2 separate regions of the Homo sapiens genome follow, and region 1 is linked to region 2. The links are contacts of gene promoters, found by promoter capture Hi-C in blood cells and fetal thymus (Javierre and others, 2016). All regions are on one chromosome and are shown on one strand. Each heading gives the region's core, a stretch centred on a gene start or on the middle of the fragment in contact. The rest is flanking DNA. Distances are from core to core; before and after follow the strand shown. Region 1 holds the start of ATN1 (atrophin 1). Region 2 holds the start of ING4 (inhibitor of growth family member 4).

Region 1 (4,448 bases), core at 819-3,318, 270 kb before region 2:
ACTATTTGTGATTGGTGTATTTTTGCCAGCCCTCCTAGAGAAGGGTGTCCATCTCCCTTCCCCATCACAGAACCTGTTCACCAAGTCAGTTAGGTTAGGGGATCCAAAAGGTCAGAGAAACACAGGAATGTACCTGAGGAACACAGCAATCATAGTATGCCCTTCTTTTTTAATCACCTGAAATCTGATAAAAACTAGCAATGAGAAGCTTTGAAGGAGAAAAGCAGTCATAAAAGAACAAGTAATCCTGGGGATAAGGAGTGGCAGACGAGGAAAGGAGTTAGGGGTGGATTGTGTGTCTTTCTAGACCTGGGTCATGTTTTAGCACCAGCCTACACTCCTAGCAGGCAATCACTGTAACTAATATTACAGAGCACCTACTCTGTATCTGGCCACATACTAAGCACATTCACCTTCATTACCTTGCTTTATTTTATTTATTTATTTATTTATTTATTTATTGAGACGGAGTCTCACTCTGTCACCCAGGCTGGAGTGCCGTGCCGCGATCTCGGCTCGGCTCACTGCAAGCTCCACCTCCCGGGTTCACGCCATTCTCCTGCCTCAGCCTCCTGAGTAGCTGGGACTACAGGCGCCCGCCACCACGCCCGGCTAATTTTTTTGTATTTTTACTAGAGACGGGGTTTCACCGTGTTAGCCAGGATGGTCTCAATCGCCTGACCTCGTGATCCGCCCGCCTCAGCCTCCCAAAGTGCTGGGATTACAGGCGTGAGCCACTGCGCACTGCCATTACCTTACTTTAAAAAGAAAATGATTAAGACCAGACTGGGTTGGGAGGAAAGTGAGAACTAGAAAAAGAGCCCCTAAGTAAGAACAGGAAAAGAAATTAAGAGAGAAATATGGGATGTCAGAAGGAATACAGTGGAGTCACAAGCTCTCTGGGAGGGGCTCGCAGGCTAAATTTCAGGATCATTGGCCCAGCCCCCAACATCATTCTGGACCTGCCAGACTAACAAACCAGTCCAAAGTGACTCCTAGATAACAATGCAGCCCAGACCAGCAGATAACGATGCACTGGCCTAAGCCTTCTGAGAATCCGGGACCTTCAGAGAGGCCTCAGAGATCATCTCATCTATAGCCCCTTCATCTTAACAATGAAGCCCAGGCTCAAAGAGAAGTGACTTGCCCAAGGTCACAGAGGCACAGCCAGGTCTAGACACAGGTCTCCTGGCTCCTGTTCTATAGTATTTCCCCTGCATGAAGCTGTTTCACAGCCCTCTGTCCTGGGCCACCCTCACCTGGGATGGGCCTGGGAGCCCAGCCATTTCTACAAGGTCAGGGAAGAAGGCCAAAGGTTAGTTGAGGGAAAGAGGAAAAGGGTTACTCAAGAAGGGAGGCTCAAAGAGGAATTCAAGTTTTAGAAAATGAAAGAAAGTGCAAAGAAGCAAAAAGACAACTCTACAAAAAATAACATAATAAGGGAGGTAGAGGTCAGAACCAACTGCCAAAAGATGGTGTAACCTGAACAGAAGCGTTTTCATCCTCCCATCATGCCCAGGTGGAGAGACTTGGAGAAACACCTATGATCTGCAAGGAACGTATCTACCTGTTCCAACAGACTTCAACATGAAAGGGTGCACACCGTGGGGAAACTCCCAACCACCAACAGATCCAGAAACAACCTCCAAAACCCAGCCCAGAGTCCCAAGGACAGCCACAGGCTGAGGTCCAATAAACATTCGAAGCCCCCCCAACCAATCTGACATCCCACTGGATCACTACCATAGCAACACAGTGGCAAAAGGTGCCCCTCAAGAGACCATCCCAGGTGTCCATCTGGCAGCTACCCCCTACCCCAGTTGCCAAAGCAACTCCTACCCTCCTATAGCACCTCAGGTAAGGGAGCTTGAAGGTACCTACCCTAGTCAAAATAAGCCCATGCACAAAGGGAGATCTTTGAGCTCAAAGCAGTAACTAAGGCCTCCCTATATAGATCACAGCTCCAGGGGCAGCGGACGCTCCGGAAATTGGAGGGTGGAGGGTGGAGGTCGCAACTTGCCTGGAGTGCCTGTAAGGTTGCTCAATTCTCCATTTCCATCCTCCCAGAACCCCTTTCTTCCCAACTCCCCCTTCTGTGTTCCTGTTTTCCTCCTCACTAGTTTTGGGATAACCCACACTACTGGGCCCCAGTGCCCTCTCCAAGAAATAACTATGTCTGGGATAGGGAAAACAGGGTCAGAGGTGACCTGCAGTAGGGGAATGAAAACCGTCACAAAGACATGGCCTTCCCTCTTCCACGCTGGAAAACCTCCGGCTCTTCTCAAAAATGGACCTCTCTTTGCCCAAGCCTCCGTCTCCCCCAGGTTCATCAGCCACAATCCCTCTTTCCACCTACCACACCCCTTTCCCGTTTCCCACTTCCCGTCTATTCCTAAAGCCCCCAACCCCAGGCTCCGGAACCCGTGTTCTGGTCCTTTGGAGCTTTTTCCTGGAGGCTTCATGCCCCACCTCGCTGCCATCTCTCCTATCCATTCTGCCTTCGCCCGGAACCCCACTCACAGCATCCCCCGTTTTCCTCCGCCAACCCCGGCCTCGATGTTCCTCCTCTTTTGAGTCTGCGGGTCCCGGATACCCTCTGGCCCCACAGGCCTCCTCCGGAGACCCTCCCTCCTTCCCCACCTTCCCGATCCTCCCGAAACCCTGGCCCCCGACTCTCCTCGGCGGGCCCCACCCCCTGAGCCCCCGGCCCTCAGGCCAGGCAGAGCCCGCAGTGGGGGGACGGGATTGGGAAAATAACAAATGGAGGCGGCGGCGGCAGGAGGGGGAACTGGGAGGGGTGGGGGTGGGGAGCCGCAGGCCGGAGCCCGGGCGGGACAGAACCCCGCGGGCCCGGGGCCCAGGCGGCCGCAGACCTTACCTGCTGGTAGCTCGGGACGGCTGGCTGGCTCCGAGCGGGATTCCGGGCTCCGGCGCCTCTGGGGGGCGGCGGCGGCAGCTCCCCCGCCCCCCTCTCCTCTTCTCGGCCTCAGTCGCCGCCGCGACGACGGCGGCGGCGGCCCCGACCCCCCCGGAGGGCGGCCCCCATCCCCCCTTTTCCCCGCCTGGCCCCAATCGCCCGCCGGCCCCCGGAGCAAACCCCGATCCCCGCTCTGCTCCCCACCTCCCCGGGCTCGCCGCCTCCCCCTGGCCGCCCGGAATGCCCCGGGCCGCGCCGCCCGCCCCCGCCGCGCCGCCCGGCCCCGCGGCCCGCCCGGCCCTCGGCGCGGTTCCGACCCGCCGCCGCCCGCGCCCGCCTAGCGCAGCCCGCACCCGCGCGATCCCGGGCCCCTCGGCCGCCTCGCCCGCGGCCCCCGCCCCTTCCCCGGCAGTCGGCTCCCTCTCCCCCCTCCTAGCCCCTCCCCGAAGCCGCGGTCCCTCCGAAATGGCCCGGCCCGAGGCCCCGACCCGGCGCGGGGCTGCGGACGGGCTGGGCGGTGCGTCCGGCGACTCGCACAGGAAAGCGGACGGCGAAGGGAGGGAGCCTGGGAGAGGGGGATGGGAGAAGGGAGGAAGAGGGAGAAGGAGGGAGCGCGGAGGAACGGAGGAGAGAGGGGCCAGGAGGGAGACGCGAGGGAGGGAGCGCGAGGCAAGCCGCGAGGGGGGAGAGAGGGGGAGCCGGAGAGGGGGAGGCGCAGCGCGAGTTGGCCGAGGCCGAGGCCGAGGGGGCCGGGGCGCGGGGAGGGCTAGCCGTGGCGGAATGTGGGGAGCCCGCGGGCCCGGCGCGGGAGAGGGCTAGGTAGGAGGGGCTGTGGGTGGTGAGGGCAGATGAGGGGAGGCTGAAGTTTGGGGGCGAGCGGGTCTGTGGCAGAGGTGAAGTGGGAGGAGTTTGGGGGATCCTGGGGTAGAGATTGGGATAATGGGATTGGATTGGAAAGATGGAGCTGCCTGGGGGCTTTGTGGGTGCCTGGTGAGAAGTGAGAGAAGCTTGGGGTGAGGGATCTGTGGCAGAGATGGAGCCAGACGGGTTTGGGGGCTATTATCAGAGAGAATGGGATGGAAGTTTGGGGTCATAAGGAGAGAGAAAAATTGAAAAGATGACATATATAGAAAGATGGGGCTTCTGGAAAAAGTAAAGCTTTTGGGGGTGATTAGTGTTGACAAAAGAGTCATAAATATAAGAATTGGGGGTGGGGGGATGAAGGAATGCTGGAGAGAGAGAAGTCCAGAGGAAACGTCAGTGAGGAGAGAGAGGAGGGAACGCGTGAGGAACCTTAAGAAGGGATGAACGAGGTGGGCCCAGGTGCCAATTCTAGGGAAAATAGGTTCTGGGTGAGAAAGGAGGGCTCTGGATGGGAAAGAAGGGTGGGAGACACCGGGCTGGCTGGATCCTGGGGGTGGGGGCTCCCAGTAGAGCCGAGGAGGGTTTACTTGGGCGGGCAGAATGGGGAAGAGGGGGATAAGAAGATTGGAAGGAAATGTAAGCTGAACAAGGCCTATGGCTGGCGGCA
Region 2 (4,710 bases), core at 866-3,365:
GCACCGAAAAAGTTGTGAAAGTTGTGACCAAGCTCCCACATCCTGAGAACTCTGGGACTGCTGGCCAATAGTACTTGTTATGTAGTTGGGCTGGGATAAATAAAGCCCACTTAATTTAGTGCTAGATATCCTGTGTGGGCACCTAAGATGGTGTCTCAATATGTTGTGTAATACCAATGAATGTATCACATATGACCAAATATGCCAATGTTTCTTAGCTCCCTGCATATTTACTGCTTTTTCCTCCCACTCTCACCAACTCTTGAAAAGGCCCTAATGGCCCTAACTTCATCACCAGTATTAGAACTAGAATCTACTCTTTTTATGGATACACTCACACTCACTTATTCCAACAACCCTATGAGGGAGGTAGTAGTCTCATTGTATAGTAAAACAGGCACAGAGATCAAGTTACCGAAAAGCATGACTTTTGTAATTAGAGCAGTTTCCCGGATTCTATTGCTGTATCTTACTACCTGCACACTAGTAAACCTGGGGTTTACAGGCTACAGATCCTTTCAGCTCTGATACCCCCACCACTCTACAGCCCCTGAACCCCCTCCTCCAGCCTGCTCTTACTGTCCAGATAATGTTTCAAATACATCCCTGCATCCATCTCGAAGCAAAACAAAGCAACTTCCAATCCGCCCCGGGTTGGAAGTTCCTCTTCTCCACATATTTGGTAGAAATTATATAGCTGAAAGTCTGTCTCTTTAAAAACTTGCCGTAAGACATTGGTAATTCTTATGAAGGATGTGTGAGGGTACGAAAAGTGTGAGGGGTGGCAGCTATCTCTAAAATACTATCTTACTAACACCACTATTAGGTTATGGCCTTTGTGTTGGCAGTGTGTTGACAGCCTAGTGTGTTGGCAGCCTCTCATACCCTTGACTGCTTCCCATTCTGATGAAAACCATAGAAATCACTCTACCATAGCTGACTAGAGTGATGGCTAGCAACTAACTAGCCAACTAGCCCAGTAGTGATACTGCTGCATCCCTCAATCCCTTCAGAATTATGATGCTAACATCACATATAAACAAAAGGAAAACAAAAACACGAGATTTCCCCCTTAGAGAGTAGCAAGAGGGGCCAGGCACAGTGGTTCGCACCTGTAATCCCAGCACTTTGAGAGGCTGAGGTGGGCAGATCACCTGAGGTCGGAAGTTCGAGACCAGCCTCACCGACATGGAGAAACCCCATCTCTACTAAAAATACAAAATTAGTCTGGCGTGATGGTGCATACCTGTAATCCCAGCTACACGGGAGGCTGAGACAGAAGAATCACTTGAACCCGGGAGGTGGAGGTTGCGGTGAGCCATGATCACGCCATTGCACTCCAGCCTGGGCAATAAGAGTGAAAATTCTGTCTCAAAAAAAAAAAAAAAAAAGCAAGAGGGCAAGGCAGGAAGTAATATTTTATATGTGAAAGTGTATTCTAGTGTAACGTACAGGAGCTCTGACAAAAGATGTGCAGAATTATAGCTTTATTATGAGTCATTCTTTGTATTTATAAGTAGAAAGGTGATCATCTTTCTCAAGTTAAAAAAATAATGCTGGGGGAGATGGTGTTTGTGTGAGTGAATAGAAATTCAGACGGTTTAAATGTCTCAAGGCCTGATACTCTTCCCCAACTTCCTTAAGAAACTAACTGGCTTGAAAAAAGTCATTCTGCAAAAGAGGGAAAAAAAGTTGGATCTTCCAGTTGCTGAGAAGGTATGTTTACGCAATATGAGCCTAAAGTGAACAGTTACCCCTGCACGGATTACCATACATTCCCGTTTTGGAGGGAAAAAAGTTTGCTAGAGAATGCAAAATGGCGACCTCCAGTGACGTCATACCTGTCTCGGTCGCGTCCTGGGGTGTCTGTAAGGGCGGAAGCGGGCTACAGCCGCCTCACTGTGGGCGGTCGTGGCTACCATGCAAAAGGAAAAGTTTCAGTGTCGGGCGGATGTGTACCGGCGGTAATATAGTAAGGGCGGAAGTTCTCCTTTAAGGGCGGAAGTTCTCCTTTTAAGGGCGGAAGTTCTCCTTTTAAGGGCGGAAAGGCTTTAGCCGCAAAATGGCTTCGGCCCCTGTCGCGTTACAGTCACTTCCGGGGCGGATCGGAAGTTGCTTTGTTTTGCTTCGAGATGGCTGCGGGGATGTATTTGGAACATTATCTGGACAGTAAGAGCAGGCTGGAGGTGGGGGTCGGGGCTGCAGAGTGGTGCGGGGATCAGGGATGAGAGGATCTGTAGCCCTTAAGTTCCAGTGACGAGAAGGTCACAATTATGAAGCGGTTCTGTGGCAGGAAATATTGGAGGGTGCGGAGAAAGAGGGGGCGGGGCAGCAGGATCGAGGCCCCGCTGATGGGTGTAGACGAGGGAGGGGTGCGGTGTGGGGGTTAGAGACGTGTCTTGAAGGGCTAGTGTGCATGGCCAGGAAGATAGTTGCTGCCCCCATTCTCCAGGGTCTCCAGCCTCGGTAGATTTTTTTCCCCATAGTCGTTCAGAATCGTTATCACACACTGCCATTTGGAGAAGCGGTAAAGACCTCTCCTCCACTCCATTCTTCCTCAAAAGTGGCTTCTCATGGGGTTGAGAGTGGTGGTGATGAGTGACCACTGTCAGATGATGAACTAGAACGCTTCTCTTCATGGAGTAAAGATCTAATTCCCATCAAATGAAAATCTGGTGTTTATGCGATTTATGTAAACCACCCCTGCAGAAAGCCTATTGCTCTGTGCGCTTACATTTGTTTTAGGGCCCGGAGTCATTTATTCAACAAATATTTATTGAGGTCCTGCTATGGGTCAGACATAATGGCAGGCACTAGGGATAGAAAAATGAGTAAGACAAGGCTCCTGCCCTCAAGAAGCTCACGATCTAGTAGGAAACAGATTCTGCAAATAATTATAAAACACTGTGACAAGTGAGATAATGGAAATACATTAAAAAGGACACTTGGTAGGCAACCCTGGAGAAAAGGGGGGTAATTACCTGGGGATGTAGGAAAAGCTTTACAGCGGAGGTGATGTTTGAATAGGGTCTTGAAGGTTATTTGCCAGTGAGGAGAGAAAAAAGGAATTCCAGGTTGGGGAAAGCATCCGCAAAGGTACTGTGATGGGTTTGTGGCAAGGTCAAGGGTGTTTGATATTTATGACTCAGAGGTCAGCGTATTTGATATTTATGAATCTAAGGTAAGAAATTGAGAAAGGAGACTGGAGAAAGAGGCTGAGGCTAGATTGGACAAGGTCTTTTAAGCCAAACGAAGAAGTTTGCATTTTAAAGTAGAGTATGATTTTTATAGAGGAAAATGACTAATATATGGTAAATTGGAGCATGATATTGTTGATAACAGAGATCAATTAGTGATAACATTCCAGGACAGAGATAAGAACCTGATTTTAGGGAGTTACAGAAGTATTTAGGAGTTAAATATGAAAGGACTGACTGAATGACTGAGTGGTTGAGAGAGAAGGAAGAATCTAAGGTGGCTTCTTCCTGCTTAGAAAGTGAGGTAGACAGGCTGGGCACAGTAGCTCATGCCTGTAATCTCAGCACTTTGGGAGGCCAAGGCGGGCAGATCACTTGAGGTCAGGAGTTTGAGATCACCCTGTCCAACATGGTGAAGCCCAGTCTCTACTTTAAAAAAAAAAAAAAATTAGCTGGGCATGGTGGCATGTGACTGTAATCCCAGCTACTTGGGAGGCTGAGTCAGGAGAATCACTTGAACCCAGCAGGTGAAGATTGCAGTGAGCTAAGATCATACATACCACTGCACTCCAGCCTGGGTGACAGAGAAAGACTCCGTGTCCCTCTCAAAAAAAAAAAAAAAAAAAAAAACAAAGGCTGGTGGCCAGGCACGGTGGCTCATGCCTGTAATCCCAACACTTTGGGAGGCTGAGGCAGGCGGATCATGAGGTCAGGAGATCGAGACCAGCCTGGCTAACATGGTGAAACCCCGTCTCTACTAAAAATAAAAAAAATAGCCAGGTGTGGTGGTGTGCCCCTGTAGTCCCAGCTACTTAGGAGGCTAAGGCAGGAGAATCGCTTGAACCTGGGAGGTGGAGGTTGCAGTGGGCCGAGATCATGCCACTGCACTCCAGCCTGGGCAACAGAGTGAGACTCCGCCTCAAAAAAAAAACAAAAACAAAAAGGCTGGGAGCGGTGGCTCACGCCTATAATCCTAGCACATTGGGAGGCTGAGATGGGTGGATCGCCTTAGGTCAGGAGTTCCAAGACCAGCCTGGCTAACATAGTGAAACCCCGTCTCTACTAAAAATACAAAAATTAGCTGGGCGTGGTGGCAGACGCCTGTAATCCCAGCTACTTGGGAGGCTGAGGCACAAGAATTCCTTGAACCTGAGATTGCGCCATTGCACTCCAGCCTGGGCGACAAGAGCGACACTACACCTCAAAAGAAAAGAAAAGAAAGTTACTCAGCGGAGAAAAGATCATGCCAACTGCTGCAGAGATATTTTTTAGGATAGGCTTAATAACACCATTAGATTTGGTAAATCACCAGTGACTCAGTCTTGTGAACTGGTGGTAGCAGACCTGAAGTTGTAGGTTTAAACAGTAGAGGCATTTTATTTTTTTTTATTTATTTTATTTTAGTTTTTCTGTTTGTTTGTTTGTTTTTGAGACAGAGTCTCACTCTGTCACCCAGGCTGGAGCGCAATGGTGCGATCTTGGCCCACTGCAACCTCTGCCTCCCGGGTTCAAG

The links. Contacts are between HindIII fragments. The CHiCAGO score rates a contact against its expected background, and 5 or more counts as called.
Region 1: a fragment that was not itself captured here is called in contact with the fragment with the promoter of ING4 in region 2 in 8 of 17 cell types (non-activated CD4 T cells, naive B cells, naive CD4 T cells and 5 more); the score reaches 11.3 in non-activated CD4 T cells.

The regions. Positions count from the first base shown.
Region 1 is chr12:6,926,815-6,931,262 of GRCh38, reverse strand. It overlaps ATN1 (atrophin 1), which reads right to left and starts at 3,304. Exons shown (of 10, transcript NM_001940.4): 1 at 2,879-3,304. It overlaps LOC124902868 (a long non-coding RNA gene), which reads left to right and starts at 3,567. Exons shown (of 2, transcript XR_007063194.1): 1 at 3,567-3,736. RefSeq lists silencers at 3,306-3,465, 3,646-3,695. The HindIII fragment of the contact is 3,716 bases long and covers 211-3,926 here.
Region 2 is chr12:6,660,524-6,665,233 of GRCh38, reverse strand. ING4 (inhibitor of growth family member 4) reads left to right here and starts at 2,115. Exons shown (of 8, transcript NM_016162.4): 1 at 2,115-2,169. The coding sequence starts at 2,133. RefSeq lists an enhancer at 2,085-2,144. The HindIII fragment of the contact is 5,227 bases long and covers 1-3,001 here.